2 separate regions of the Homo sapiens genome follow, and region 1 is linked to region 2. Evidence: promoter capture Hi-C in 16 types of primary human blood cells and fetal thymus (Javierre and others, 2016). All regions are on one chromosome and are shown on one strand. Each heading gives the region's core, a stretch centred on a gene start or on the middle of the fragment in contact. The rest is flanking DNA. Distances are from core to core; before and after follow the strand shown.

The links. The method cuts DNA at HindIII sites, captures the fragments that hold promoters and counts their contacts. A CHiCAGO score of 5 or more calls a contact.
Region 1: a contact is called between a fragment that was not itself captured here and the fragment with the promoter of ANKRD22 in region 2, in 1 of 17 cell types (neutrophils). The highest score is 5.3, in neutrophils.

The regions. Positions count from the first base shown.
Region 1 is chr10:87,864,831-87,872,732 of GRCh38, reverse strand. All of the region lies in intron 1 of PTEN (phosphatase and tensin homolog), which reads right to left. Among named protein-coding and RNA genes, the nearest start is that of PTEN, 5.2 kb to the right of the region's middle. The HindIII fragment of the contact is 2,680 bases long and covers 1,814-4,493 here.
Region 2 is chr10:88,849,720-88,857,570 of GRCh38, reverse strand. It overlaps ANKRD22 (ankyrin repeat domain 22), which reads left to right and starts at 5,727. Exons shown (of 6, transcript NM_144590.3): 1 at 5,727-5,984. The coding sequence starts at 5,964. The HindIII fragment of the contact is 4,987 bases long and covers 2,752-7,738 here.

The sequences.
Region 1 (7,902 bases), core at 1,904-4,403, 980 kb after region 2:
AGCATCAGCATCACTTGAAAACTTCTAAGAAATAAAAATTCTCAGGTCCCAATCCAGACCTACTGAATCAGAAACTCTGAGGGTGGAGTAAGCAATCCATAGCTTAATAAGCCCTTCAGGTTGTTCTAACACACTGAAGTTTAAGAACCACTCATGTAACATAATGGGAAAAATACTGCACCAAGTGCCAAAAAAGTCCTGCATCCTTCTTCAGACTCAGTCTTTCACTAGCCATTAACAAGATACTGATTCCACTGGAGCTACAATTCCTAAGCTGCAAAAAATAAATAAATAAATAAATAAATAAAATAAAAAAGAAAGAAAAATAAAAGTAATGCCTGTTCTGTCTGCCTCTTAGGTTACCTGTTCTTCTTTGCAAAATCAAATGAGCTAATGATTTAAAAAGTGTATTGTTAATCAAAAACTACATAAGACAGAGTATATATTAGCTAATTCAGTATCTTTCATAAATGATTCTTTCAAGGTATACAATAAATTTTACAACATGGTCAAATTAAGCCTAGCAAAACACTGTTTTTACCTTATAAAAATGAATAAAATAAATTTTAAAAAATCCCAGGCATTCCATTTTATCGCTGACAATCAGTGTAAAATAATTTATAATACACACTAAAAAAAAAACCTAAAAAATCAAGCTTAATGACATCCCCAAAATTTCATTTTAAAAGTACAGTTTTCAATTCTATCTAATTTCATCTCCAATCAGTTTAGAGTAACCAGAATACTCAAAAAGAAGTCTCACAAAGAGAGGGAATTTTAAATGGAAAAGAATCCTGCATTTTGAAATAAGCAAAAAGTTTGTAACTTTAAACATGTATACGATATTTATGAATCACTCTAAAAATACATCTATTCATGCCAGCAATGGTGGGTTAAATTTTTAAACGCATCTAATTAAAAGAGTATCTGAGGCCGGGCGCAGTGGCTCATGCCTGTAATCTCAGCACTTTAGCAGGCTGAGACAGGCAGATTACCTGAGGTCAAGAGTTCGAGGCCAGCCTGACCAACATGGAGAAACCCCCCATCTCTACTGAAAAAAAAAATATAAAATTAGCCGGGCGTGGTGGCGCATGCCTGTAATTCCAGCTACTTGGGAGGCTGCGGCAAGAGAATTGCTTGAACCCAGGAGGCGGAGGCTGTGGTGAGCCGAGATCACACCATTGCACTCCAGCCTGGGCAACAACAGCAAAACTCCATCTCCAAAGAGTATCTAATTCAAATCACAATGCATTTCATAATACCTTAAATAATTACATCCTCTTCAAAAGATCAAAAGTATTAAACAAATAAAATTCACAGAATACAATCTTTGCAATTACTAGTAAAGAACAGAGAACCTTATTGTACTTCAGCCTGAAAATCTACAAAAATCAAAGGAAATAAAAGTCAAAGCTATGCTTAAGTGCTCTAATATTAAATCAACAGTAAGTCTTAGGTAGTGATCTAAAGCAAAAACTAGGTGCAAGGAGAGAGATTGATTTAGAAAACTCAGCTGTGCTCAGATGCCAAAATGCACAATTCAATTCTACAACCTAGACATGGACCAAAAATACAGCTAGTTTACAAAACACATAAAATGCATAAAAATCACATAATCAGAAAGTCACATAGTATCAGACAGAGTGTATTCACTCTGCAATATAAAACACACACACAAAAAATCCACTCACTAGAAGTCAAGTGCTTCACTACTAAGAGTGCTGTGGTACATCTGGGAAATCAGTACAGCCCAAGGGGGGGAAAAATAATAATCCCTATGTACACATAATGGCCTTTACTGGACAGATAAGCTTATTCCATCTTTCCCCATATTCAATTAAAAAAATGAAGAAAAAAATCCTTTAGTTCTTTACTTCTTTCTTCCCACGTCTTGGGCCTAAATCATATTGAGAATCCTGGCCAAATGTGGAAATAGGACTCAATAATACAGAGACTGAATACTTTAAAAGTTCCCATATTATGTTAATGCATTACAGATTATATTAAGTGTCCATTTTATTGTAATAAATGTAACTTGACATTCAGTTGCAAGACTCCCTCAAAAGGCTGAAATTTTCAAAAGGAAATGCTAAAAAATATACCTCTATTGACCAAAGTTTACATAACTCATATTAAGTTTATTACATTTGAGGCAGAGTTTACTTTATGTGAATAAAAATGTATGATAGTTAAGTTGACCTATCTTCAACACTAAAGAAAATTTAAGATTATAACAAAGTTTAAAAATTCTACTTCATTATGCTAATAGGAAGTTTTTGCCTTTTATATTTTAAAGCAAATAGTTTTTGATTGGCATAATTAATTTTACTTTGGTCAACAGTTTGAGTTAGCAGAGATTTATTTCCCATTTGTGATGAACCAGCAAAATCACAGACATGTCATACCCAGACTTCCTAAAGGAATACCCTTATTTTTAAAAACACTTATAACTTGAAACAAAATCCTAACATGGCCCAAACTGAGGAAATTCAGTTACAATCATACACCATAAATGAAAATACAAATAATTTCCCTACATACATAACCTGAAATTACAGTTTTTCAGAGCAGTAGCTACCATTTAAGTATTTACAATGTGGCAGGTACTATGCTAAATGAAATTACTTATTATTATCTCACTTACTATTCAAGATAAACGTATGCGGTAGGTTCCATTATCATCCCCATTTTACAGATAAAATAGATTGAGAAAATCTAAATAACCTACTCAAAGTCATCCAGCTACTAAATGGAAGATCCAGGATTACAAAACAAGCAGTCTGGCTCCAGAGCCCACACTGCCTCCCTAAAATCTAAAATGAAACAATGTATATATGCTTAAAAGTATAGATAAACGTAATACTCAAAATTTTAACATAATTTAAAATAGATCTGACCATATTTAAAAACTATAGAACAATATTCTCTAAGGTAGTCTTTTCTTTAAAGAAACAAAAATTCGTTTTTTAATAAATATTAAGATAAAAGGTTTGCTAACTTTGTATACACATACACACACAGAGAAATCAAACACTGGTTAGATTCACTGTTCATATTTGAAGTGGTGAGTACTGATAATAATTATGTGTATAATTACTTAAAATATAATGTGTAAACAGTCTTCTTTTTCACACTATGTGGAGGTCAAGAAAATTCTTTTGATGGCAGGTACAGCTACAATATCCATCTCTCAATATTCTCAACACTGGCCAGGCGCAGTGGCTCACGCCTGTAATCCCAGCATTTTGGGAGGCCGAGGCAGGCGGATCACTTGAGGTCTGGAGTTTGAGACCAGCCTGGCCAAGGTGGTAAAACCCCATCTCTACTAAAAGTACAAAAACTATCTGGGCGTGGTGGCATGCACCTATAATCCCAGCTGCTTGGGAGGTTCAGGCAGGAGAATCGCCTGAACCTGGGAGGCAGAGGTTCCAGTGAGCCGAGATCCTGCCACTGCACCCCAGACTGGGCGATAGAGCGAGATTCCATCTCAAAAAAAAAAAAAAAAAAAAAAAAATTCTCAACACTGCCAAAAAGTAATGCCTTGAAGATGTCCTAATACCTTGAAGATGTTCACACATGTCCCAATGTCAACTGTTGCAAATGAAGAATCTGCCTTAACTATACAGAACTAAAACTTCCCAAATAAAATTAATTCACCCTTAAATTATGTTACTCTTCTTATATTTGCCGATACTTATTTATTCCAGTGCAAATTATTTTAAAAGAATTAAATTGCTAATACTTCCTCTGCAACCAATGAAAAAAATTCAAAAAACTAAGGGAAAGGTGAATAGTCAAGTACAATATACTAATTTCACCTTTCTTGGCAAATTATTTTACATTAGTGAATGCATATACTCAATATGTACAAAGAGAATCACCAAACACAGACCAATATACTTTTAACCACCTATGGAAGAACGTATATGTGGCAGTAATGCACCCTATAAAAGACTTACAGTTATCAGTTTGCTCAGCAAAGCCTTACCAATTTAAGGTTAGTCTAACCTCAACATTATTCTCTCTGATAAGCAACTAAATTAATTTCAAAGCTACCAAATAGAAAGCAATTGTAAAACAGAACTGACTGACCCCAGTCTCACAAATTTCCTAAGTCACTATCTTCAGAACAAATCCTAACATCTTTTCTTAATGAATTCAGGCCACAAGATGAATTCTTCAATGCTGACTGTGAAAATCAAGTTTAACAGAAAAAATGAAGAAAAAGGTAACAAGATTAAGAACTAATGGGTTCCATGTAATAAAACTTCTGAACTGTTTGTTTAACCCAACGGTTTCTACAGAAAAAAAAAAATACATTTCTTAAGCTATGTTAATATTACATTTTCTGGAAGCTAAATCCTTGTAGTATGGCAGAGGCCTCACATTTCAATTAAGCAGAAAATTGTCATATGCATGCAACACTTCTACAATTCTCTTTACAAACTCTGAAGTCACACACAATATCAATAATAAAAGTGATTTCCTAAGCTTTCGTCTTACTTAAAAGATTGAGATGAAAATTTAAAAATAGCACGTTTACTTCAAGTGAATTAATGTTAAAACTTTGTGAAGTGAATTTCCCATAACAAATACTCCTCCATTAAAAGTCACTGAAGTGATTACTTCAGAAGCGGCTTAAAATATTTTTTTAAGTGTTGCGCTATCACCAAATGAACAAACAGCAAATGGAGGCAAATTTCAAAATAACATTAGAAAATAAGAATTGAAGACTTCTTCACTTCCAAAAAGTAAGCCATTTCATAACACTAAGAAGTTTATGTATTTTATGTGGCTATGAGAAAGCAGATGCACTGTTCCATACAAAAATTAAAATATCACCAGTTGCCTTTCCCATGTTATTAAAAATAAAATTCTAAAAAGGTAATAAAGGAATCTTTCTTTACTATCTTCTAAAACTAAGTTTAAAATGAAGGTGGTTATACCTCACCATATTTTATTATCTTTAATCATTTAGTATTTACTTAGTATATTATAAGCAATGTAAATCTGCATTGATGACTATACTGCTGTGCAAACTTTTACACTGGCAGCAATAAAATTCCTTTTTCCTCATATAAACTGTACATTACTCCTTTCAGTTGTGCTTTACACTTGAATAAGCACTATGAAAAATGAAGTTTGTAAGTTATCATACAGCAATTAGGTGGTCCAGTCATGTTTTTCAGGAAATATAACTTAGCAGATACAAAACAATGTAAAATAAATGTTGTGAATAGAATACTTTTTAAAACCCTCATGATTAATTTCAGTAATCACTTACCTTGAGGTAATTTAGGTAACTTCAATAGTCACTGTACTCTCTACAAGTTAAAAGTATTCCCTGTGAACATTTATTTGAAAAGAGGCAAATCTACCAAACAATAAAAATACAACAGAAGCCTAACGTTTCCACATACCCTAAATACACTTAATTTTTCTATAGTCTCAAATTCAGCACTATATTTCAGACTAATATTAAGCATATAACCCTACTAACAAATTTTTAGAATAATTTAATTTTGCGATAATATTTTAAAACTGAATTATTGTCCTCAATTTTCCTCGGAGAAATGGCTTCATTATTAATCTTTCTTTATCAGATAAAAATACTCCAATCACTACTTTCATAAAGGAATTTAACTTTTCACAGGTTAGTTACTGAAATAAATACTACAACATGTCAAAGACAAAGTCTTCAATGACAATTTTAATGCCTTCCCACTCCAATAAACAGAAAACATTAACGTGAAAACAAGCAAACCAAGTACGTTGGAATATCAAAATTATTGGGAGTGCAATTATCAAAAAAGCAAGCACTTCACTGACTTTCCTTACTGACTTTTTTTCATATCAACTTTTGGCTCAATAAAACCACAACTCTAGAAATTAAGTGTTATTAGTCATTTGACGCAATATTTGATACTGCTTTCTATGCATATCATAACTAAAAGTACAGTTTTAGAGAAAGTTTTAAGTCACACAAATTTCATGTGTAGAGACCAACATACGCTGAAATCAAAGAAAATGCCAGTCATGTCACAGCTCACATGTAAAAACCTGGTAAAATAATTTTAAGGTCTTAATAACCCTGATAATTTAAAATCAAGTGGGAAAAGTAAAAGTAGTGTGTTATGTACTTTAAGTGCTGAAAGAAATCTGTCTCCCAGACAGCATTCAATTATTTTCTTCAAAGGCTTTTTTTTCAAAGTTACATAAACATTTAATTTTTTGTTCCTATATATTTGGATGACTGTCAGTAATTCATGCTAATAGTAGACTGCTTTGGAAGTCACAAAAGAATTTTTCCATAATTATCTTCTGGGCAAGCGGGTCCAGTTTAGCCTTAGTAACATTCTCAATTAATGTCAACTTCAAAATTTGCAAATACTCTTTTAAAATAATATTTTTGGCTTAACAGAAAACTAAATTTTGGGAAGCTACTTCTTCAGTAAGTTTTACATTCATTTCAAAACAAAAACTTGGGCAAAATTAACTGTGCACATTTATATGCAGCTAACATAATCCAACGGAATAAAACCTCTCCCGATATAAACGCTGTCTTAAAAAAAAATATTCCCCACAATTTTTAGCAGGACATATAGACACTGTAGTGTCACTCTACCTTTAGACAAAATGCAACTGACATTTGCTAAGAAATAACTTTTATTAAAAATACTGTGCTAGTACTTATGCAATTACATAATTTTAACTAAATATTGTCCACTGCCACAATTCGCATTACCAAACTCATATTACCAAATTTTAGGCCTTGATAGAGCCTAAATGCTTCAGTCACTTCAGACCAATAACTTAATTCTGTTTTCACATACCTTATACACTGGCCTACCAATAGCTCTCAATTCCTGTCAATACTTTCCCCATTCTGCAAAAAGAGGGCCCCATCCCCATCCCTAATCAAAACCAATGTGTTGTACCTGAAACTGCAAAGATTAATGCTTTTCGATGACCACTAACTTTTGAAGCCCGAAGGCCTAACTTTTAGACAACTAAAGCTACACACTGTTAAAATTCTTGGGCTTCTGTCTTATTCAGCAAGCTGACTCAGTAAATTTAATACACTGTATGAAAAAAGCTAACATACCTACAATCTAAAGCTGGAGTAAACCCCTCTTGCCAGCATTTCTAGATATTAGCTGGTAAAATACAACTGACATTCTACACAAATCAGTAAAATTAACGATACCAAAAGGTGTCAGAGGACCTGAAACCTAAAAACGGTGAGCAGCAATTCTGGCATCACAACAATACTTAAATTTCAAGCATGAACTGAAGTTTTATTTCTGCAATCTTCACTTGCTACACACAATACCCTTGAACCTACACATTACCATCTGGGATCAGAAACTACTCAATATCCATTCTATGTTTATGACAAGAGCACTGAACATTAAATGCTACTGAAGTGCAAATTTCAAGCACTATCCTACATCACCCCATAGGGAGAGAAAAAGGTAAATATAACAAAGATCTAGTAAGAACGCCTTATAAGGTATATTATGGCACTATTGACTTCAAACTACAAAACTTCTACATACAGTTCAAAGTTGTAGGTAACTTAAGTTTAAACATTAACAAAACTACTTTTTGCCCTCAATGTGCACCATATATACTGAAAATGATTCTGCTTCTAAAGTTATGCAAATCAGTCATATTTTAAAAGAATCTATCAATGCAACTCAGGAAACTAAAACAATCACTGCAAGATTCTGATGCAATATGCGTACGTGCAACACTAATTTTCATTTTATTCTGATCTAAACCCTTGATCTAGGGCCTAAGCCAAGATTTAATCGAAATATGCTCAACCTCAAAAAGCGTCTACTTTTTTGTTCATTTAGGAGACCGGATTACCGAGCTCGCTAATCCACTAACAGTGTA
Region 2 (7,851 bases), core at 4,478-6,977:
ATTTAATTAAATAGTAACTGTCAACATTAAAAGGCATACAATAAAAAATGTCCTTGAGTGAGTTAAAGAAGAAATAACTCTGTACAACCAAGGACTTTACAAAGTTTTAGAGGAAAAAAATAACTTTAATAAGGTTTCCCAACTCTTCTATTTCTTACATTGAGGATTATTAATCTAATGCTAATGACCCTCAAAAAGCTTAATCTCTAGTGTAACCCTTACTCTAAAACTCCAGAATCATATAACAAGCTTTCTATTGGCATCTCCACTTAGTGTGCTAGAAATATGTTCCTTAAATAAAATTTGTGCATACCTGAGCTAATCATCTCTTCCCAGGCTTTCCCTAATCTTGCTCTTCCAGAGTTTTCTTTGAAAGATAAAAATCTACCAAATTTCCAAAGCCAGATACATGCATATTATCCTTGTTCTGCCATTTCCCATGTATCTTATATCAGATGGATAATTCTGTTATTTCTAGCTTCTAAACATCTCCATAGTACTATGTTAGTCCAACTTAAGTAAAGAAAACAACCTAGTTATTTAAACACAAAGAATTGAATGTCTGGAATTGGTTAAGTAGGTATTGGAAGACTAGAAAGTAAAAAGAGAATATTAAGGTAACACAGAGATAGAATTGCAGGAACAGCTACCACCCCTTGGACTGAGGGAACAGAGTGAGGTTGGGGTTATTAGAACTTAGGAGAGAAAAGGGCCTTGAAATTCTGGGCCCCAGGCCTTGAGGAGGGGCCATTTCTTGGTAGCTGCTCATACCTCAGAATCGCAAGGAAGGAATTGCATGAATTTGGGTTCGGGGAGAGAAACAATTAGTGCTGGGCACCTCTGAAAGGTATAAATAGGCTGGTTCTGGGAATGTGGAAAATAAGCTCGATCAATTGCTTTTTCTTGGATGAAGAGCTATTGGTGGGATGAGGCCGATAGGATTGCAAGCATATAGAAATGAGTAGATCTCTTTCTCCCTCTTTAGCGTTGTAATCTCACATGGAGTGCTCCTTAGAAAATAGACCAGGTTTCAAGAAAGGGTCATATATGCAAAGCAATCTCCAAACAAGGAAGGAGCCAAGAAACCAAATAATAAGGCAGACAAAATCAGTTTTTTGATAAAGGGTAATTTATTGGGGGAACTTACAGACAGAAGTGTGGCCTGCAGTAGCAAGACAAATAGATCTCCACACCAATACACCCCAGACCCCGGGCTTATATATCATAAGGAAAGGGGATACATGCTCTATAGAGACAATTAAAGACAACCCCCCAGAACAGGCAAGAGTGCTGTGTGCATCATAACCTATATTTGTGTGATAACATCAAGTTTGCTTTGGTCTAAAGGCAGGATTTACAGTAAGTATGTGTTCTTACACTAAGGACAGTAAATAAAGTAGGAATCCGAAGGCATTTATGGGACTGGGGTTAATGAGAAGTCAACATGGTGGATTAGCATCCAAGATGAAGTTAATTTTGTCTCCACATACCAGTAGGAAAAAAAAAAAGCTAGCTTGCAGAATGCCAGGGTAGGCATTGAAGAACCAAACATAGAAAAGTGTGTTCAATGCTAGGAGATAGCTTAATAACTCATAGTTGGCAAAGTCTGTTATTTCTACCTCCTAAACTCTAGAGTTTATCCTATTCTCTCTATCCACACTGCTGCTCTTCTGCCCCAGGTAACTATTATCATGCAGCTGACCTAATGCAATAACCTCCTAACTAGTTGCTGTTTCTTTTTTCCTGCCTCAGATCCACTCTCTGTACAACAGCCAGAGTGAGCTTTATTATATAAATAAAATTCTGATTACAACACTCCTCTACTCAAATCTCTCCAATGGGAGCCAATTTTACAGTAAGTAGCTAGTCAGACATGAGCAGAGTAGGAGAGGGCTCCCCCCACCCACCAGGAATGTCAGGTGAACATCAGGTGATAGTAAGGAGGTTGTTAACCGTCTCTCTAAAATAATAGTTGAGGGCCAGGCGTGGTGGCTCATGCTTGCAATTCCAGCACTTTAGGAGGTCGAGGTGGGCAGATCACCTCAGGTCAGGAGTTTGAGACCAGCCTGGCCAACATGGTGAAACCCCGTCTCTACTAAAAATACAAAAATACAGGTGGCAGGTGTCTGTAATCCCAGCGACTCTGGAAGCTGAGGCAGGAGAATCGCTTGAACCTGGGAGGTGGAGGTTGTAATGAGCTGTGATTGTACCACTGCACTCCAGCCTGGGCAACAGAGCAAGACTCCATCTCAAAAAAAAAAAAATTATATATATATATATATATATATATATATATATAAAATAACAATTGGTCACAGCCAGTGCCAGGGAAAGGCAGTCTCCCAATAGACAGAAAAAACTTGAAACTGGTGATCAGCAGCTTCCTGATAAGATCTCAGGAGTTGGGCGAGTGGGTTCAAGCATGCACATTAAGAGGCAGAATGGCAGAGTTTAACTGGTATATTACCTTCTAGGGACATTCAGCTGGTAAGAGAAGAGTGCTTCAAGTAAGCATGCATACAACTCCAGTAAACACACTGTGCATGCTCCCCTCCCAAATCCTGGTGGGCCACTGCACATGTGGACAGCCCACCAAAGGGCAGAATCAGGGGAGAAGGAATGCAGGACCCTGGAAGTATGCCAACGTATAAAAACCCCGAGTCAAAAGTCAAACTGCACACTTGTCTTTCAAGTTGCCCACTTGGTCCTCTTCCAAATGTACTTTACTTTGTTTATTCCTGCTCTAAAGCTTTTTAATAAACTGTCGCTCCTGCTCTAAAACTTGCCTTGGTCTCTTCTTCCATCCTATGGCCCCCAGTTGAATTCTTTCTTCTGAGAAGGCAAGAATTGAGTTTGCTGCAAACCCACACAGATTCACTGCTGGCTGGTGACATATTTTGGTGCCGTGTGACTCAGATAACTTCCACTGCTAATGTCAATGTTGGACAATGTTAGATAATGTTGAAGGATTAAGATATCAGCGTAAAACTGAGTTTCTGTGGACTATACTTCTTTGTTATGCTCTACTGAACCCCTCTTGGGGGGAAGTCTTTGGGATACACCTTACAAGAGACTCATCTCTCACAGACAGTTGGCTGCTGGTCAGTGGAGGTTGGCTGCATTTACAGCCAGGATCAAAGGATGCCACTAATTTTAAGTCCCTAGTGTTTAATTCAGATTAAACACTAGGTTTATTTCTTGACAGAAGACATTTGTCTTCTTGACAGTGTTATTTCTTGACAGAAGACATTTACCTGTGAAAGCTGTTTTCTGGAACTTCTTTTCTTTACCTGTCTTTGTAATTATAGGCTCAAAATTGCCAGAGGAAGAACCCTAAACACTTAAAAATATATCTGTTTATCCAACTTCATTCTGACAATATGCCTCCGTATTCCAATTTGACACTATAGTTTACGAAGTCCTCTTCCTTCACCTTTAATTCTCCTTTTGGCTTAGACTAGAGTTTCTCTACATTAGCACTCTTCTGAGCTGGGTAATTCTTTGCTCTGAGAGGCTGTCCTGTGCACTGTAGGATGATTAGCAGCTTCCCTGGCCTCTGCTCCCCACATTAGAGTACCATGCTCCCACTCCTAGTTGTGACCACCAAAAATGTCTCCAGACATTGCCAAATGTCTTTAGTTTCCAATAAAACGACGTTCTCCATTAAGCAACATAATTTTTTAGTGTATGTATGTCCCATATGACATTTCAGAAATTTATCTGAAATTCAAATTTAACTGAACATCTTATCTTTTTCGTTGCTAAATCTGCAGTCTATCTGGGGGCGAGATAACCCCTGGTTGAGACCCAATGGCCTAGAGTTAAATCCAAGTGTTTTACAAATAACAATGAGTCAACTGCTTTTTTCATTGGTTTGTTTTTTGAGCTAACCCTACATCATTTGCAATTATAATGAGTACTGTTCCTTTAGAACCAGATGTTGTCAAGAGATGCAGAATCTAATAAAATGAGTTTTGATCCTGATTGAAAGTTAAAGAAACATTTAGAGCTCAGTCAGGGAGGAAAGAGCTTGAAGAAGAAAGCTAGCAGCAACCTTAGGAGAGAAGCAATGACAGTGAAGAGTTCTGTCCACACAAATTAGTTGAAAGAGGTTACAAAAGAGGCTACCAGAGGTTACAAAATATTGCATAACAGAGTGAAGTACCCAATGGATATACCATTAATGTTTTTCTAAGTCAATGGGAAGACACTTAAATGTCTTAAGAGTCTACAGAAATACAAAATCAAACCAAGCCAAAGAGGAAGTCAGCTGCAATTTTAGTGGGTATTGCAGACTTCCCTCTCCTCCAACGGAAGAATTAGCTAATTCTTAAACTCCAGAGAGGCTGGCCTCGATGTCAACTGCATAGTGAAACATAAAATCTTTGAAATAATTATAAAAATAGCTCAGTATATCCACCAGTGGAGTAAGAAGAATTTCCCTGAATATTTATAAGCACAGGCCTAGTATCCTGGTCACTAGTTTCTGGCCACTAAGGAGCCTCAACTGATTGGGAAAATCACATCAATTGGTTTGAGATGGTTGAACTATTTCTTCCATGATATTATTGAGCAAATAGGCTTGCTGCCCCCTGCTCACAGAAGCCAATATCTGGACACTGGGTTTTGAGGAAAGAAAAACTTTATTGCAAGACAGGTCAGCAAGGAGACAGGAGGTGGGCTCAAATCTGCCTCCCCAGTTTGGAATCTGAGAAAATGTATGGCTTAGAGGGTGAGGGAAAGGATTTAGGAATGTTGGTTTGGCAGGGACTGATTGAAGGGCTTCAAATTTGACCACTAAAGGTAAGGTATGTTGAGGCAGATTTCAGCCCTGGATCTTTTGGGCCAATGAGCCCCTAGCTTCTGAAAGAGGTCCTGCATTTAGGTTCCCGTCATGTCCTTGTCTTCTTGGTTCCCAGGGGAGGGATCATTTGTTCTAGGTTCTGTTAGAGGCAAAAACATTTTTATTGTGCATGCCTGGGCTAAATGACTTACAGTTTTTGGCTCTGTTATATCTACAGAGTAAATTGACATTTGTTATCAACAAAGTACGGCCCATTTGGGCTGGTCCCATGGTTATAATGGGTGTGTGGACGGTCGAGTGTTTCAATTCTGGGAAAGTTTGATGTGATTGTATTCAGTTCAAGGAAAATGTGTGAATGATATCATATATAGCATATAAAATGTTTACAATATTTAAGAGATTGGGCATACTAGCATGTTTGATAAATAAATTGATGATGCAATTTAAAATGCATAACAGAGTATTTGATTTTAGACTTATGATTTTTAAATTGAATATTATAAAGTAATTTGGCTAAATGTGTGAATAGTATTGGAATATTTAAAACAACTTAAGATTTATTATGTTAGTAAATTTATTAGTTTACAAAACTGCATAAATAGCTGGAAAAGCGTTACTTGTTAGGCTGAGAATTTTGAAGATTATTTTTCAAGTTCTTTGCCAGACACGTGTGGCTCTCACAAGTAAGTTTGTTGGTCTCTAGCCTTTCTCAATGGCCACTGAAAACCAGATTTTGATTACGAAATGTCTGAAATACAGTATCTTGGTTTGAACCGTGAGTCCTTCCTGCCAATGTAAGAACTTTTCTTCCTCCCTTAACTTTGCTTCCTTCTTTCCTGCATGTTACCACTGGCAGAGCAAATATGACTCAGAAACCGGCTCCTCAGGGTTGTAACATTAGATGATACAGGCTTGGGTCGTTACACATGACACCAGTGCCTTTGTTTCATTGGGCTGGGCTCTCTGGAAGGTGTGCTGCTGCCTGAGCTGCTGGAAAAGCACTGACAGGTGTTTGCTAGAAAAGCACTCCTGGAGCTTGCCACCAGCTTGGACTTCTAGGGACTTTCCTCTCAGCCAGGAAGGATTTTGATATTCATCAGAAATACCTCCAGAAGATTCAAGGAGCTGTAGAGGTGAAGTAAGCCTGTGAAGGACCAGCATGGGAATCCTATACTCTGAGGTACATCACCTTTCTGAAAGCAGAGTTCCAAAGATGTTAAAAGTTACTCATGCTTTTCAGATGCAATTTTCTATCCCTGTTAATATATTTCTGTTTTGTCTGTTCAACTCCCTGGGGGAGCATTAAGTCAGAAAAAATAAAGTCCTATGTGTTATTCTTGTTGATATTCTTAATAGTTTAAGACAAAGTATTTTGTAATTCTAAAATATTAGCTAGATCTAAGTTGAGATGAATATAATACACATTTCATAGTATCTGGATGTTTGCAAGGATAATTTGGACAAAATCGAGTTTGAGTTGTGCTTTTCTCATGACAAACACTCAGAGAAAAAGAGAAAATTGTACTCAATTGGATTTTCTAAATATCCAAAAGATTGACTGCCTCTTTTATGGAACCACATGACCAGAGTAATGCCTTTCAGCTTGGTATTTGAAGGGAGATTCACCTTTAGTAAATATTAGTAAAGACTATCACTATGAAGAAGAGGAATAATAACATATTTTGATGATTTGATTATTTTCTTTTCACATCTGATAAATACTGAGGTACTTTTACTTGTATTGGAAGTAACTTATTAGAATCAAATGGATTTTTAATGATGTTTCAAGAAAGTACAAGCAAGGAATGTTTAGACAAGAGTACAAGAGGTGTAATGATGTCATTATACATAATTTACTCTCTCTCTCCTCTGACACAATTAACTGGTTAATCTGCATTTCATTGCAGATGCTCAGGGGAACCTTCTTGGATAGTTTTGATCTAGTATTAAAGACAGTTTATTTGCAGTTATTTCTAATGCCATGTGTGTATATATCTCTCCGTGTGTGCAAATGCAGTGTTTGATTGGTTTATAACTCTAGGTATGTCTTGCTCAGTGATTTTAGCCTCATGAAGGGATCATATACATGAAAATGACAAAACATATAGTGCTTTTAAATGCTACTCTGGTAACTCTCAAACTTTAGACTGCCCAAGTGTCAGGGAGAGAAGTTTGTTTGAAATGCAGTTTCAAGGGACTCCAACCCAGAGAGTCTGTTTCACTCAGTCTATGGTAGGATACAAAAGTATACTTTTTAAAAGGAGCATCCCAGGTGGTTCTGACATAGGGGTGATCTGTTTACCACCATCCTGAGAAAGAAAGACTGCCACAGGCCAGTGCTTTCCCGTTTTTAATGTCTATACAGATCTTCTGAAGGTCTTGTTTAAATGCAGATTCTTAGTTTGTAGACCTGGGTGGGACCTAAGATTCTGCATTTTGGTTGCTTTTTCAGATTGCATGTGGGAATTATATGTGATTTGGAAAAAGGAAAAAAAAAAGCCTAGTCTCATCCTCAGGTATTCTGATGTAGAAAGTTGGAAGTAGGACCTTTCATCTATAGTTTTAAAGAGTTTGAGACTCTTTAAAATTAAATAGTAATCTCTTAAATATTTAAACATAGCCTACTCATTTGTAATATATCATTTGCTCTGTGTTTCCTAAGGATAAAGATTGTGAGCTACTCATTAAGGACAAGAAAAAAGCCTGCTGGATCCCTGGTCCTATGTTGCCTGGAAGAATCTATTCAAAAAAAAAAAAAAAACTTCCCCCAATTTGAGTGCGGGAAGCTCCTCTAGATTGGGGACATAGGGTTATCATTTTTCCTTAGAGCTTTGCAGTGCTAATAGTTATGCAATATATATTTTTAAGAAAGAAGGAGAGAATGAGGGAGGATCCCAGAGAGCTGGTCCTGAAATCTGCACTAGAGGATAAGCTTAGAGCTCAGTGAGAGGCCCTAATTTTGAATAAGTAACTCCAACTGCGTAAGATGGACTTTTAAACAAGGCTGATTCATTTAAACCCTTATCAAAGGTATTTGTTCATAATAT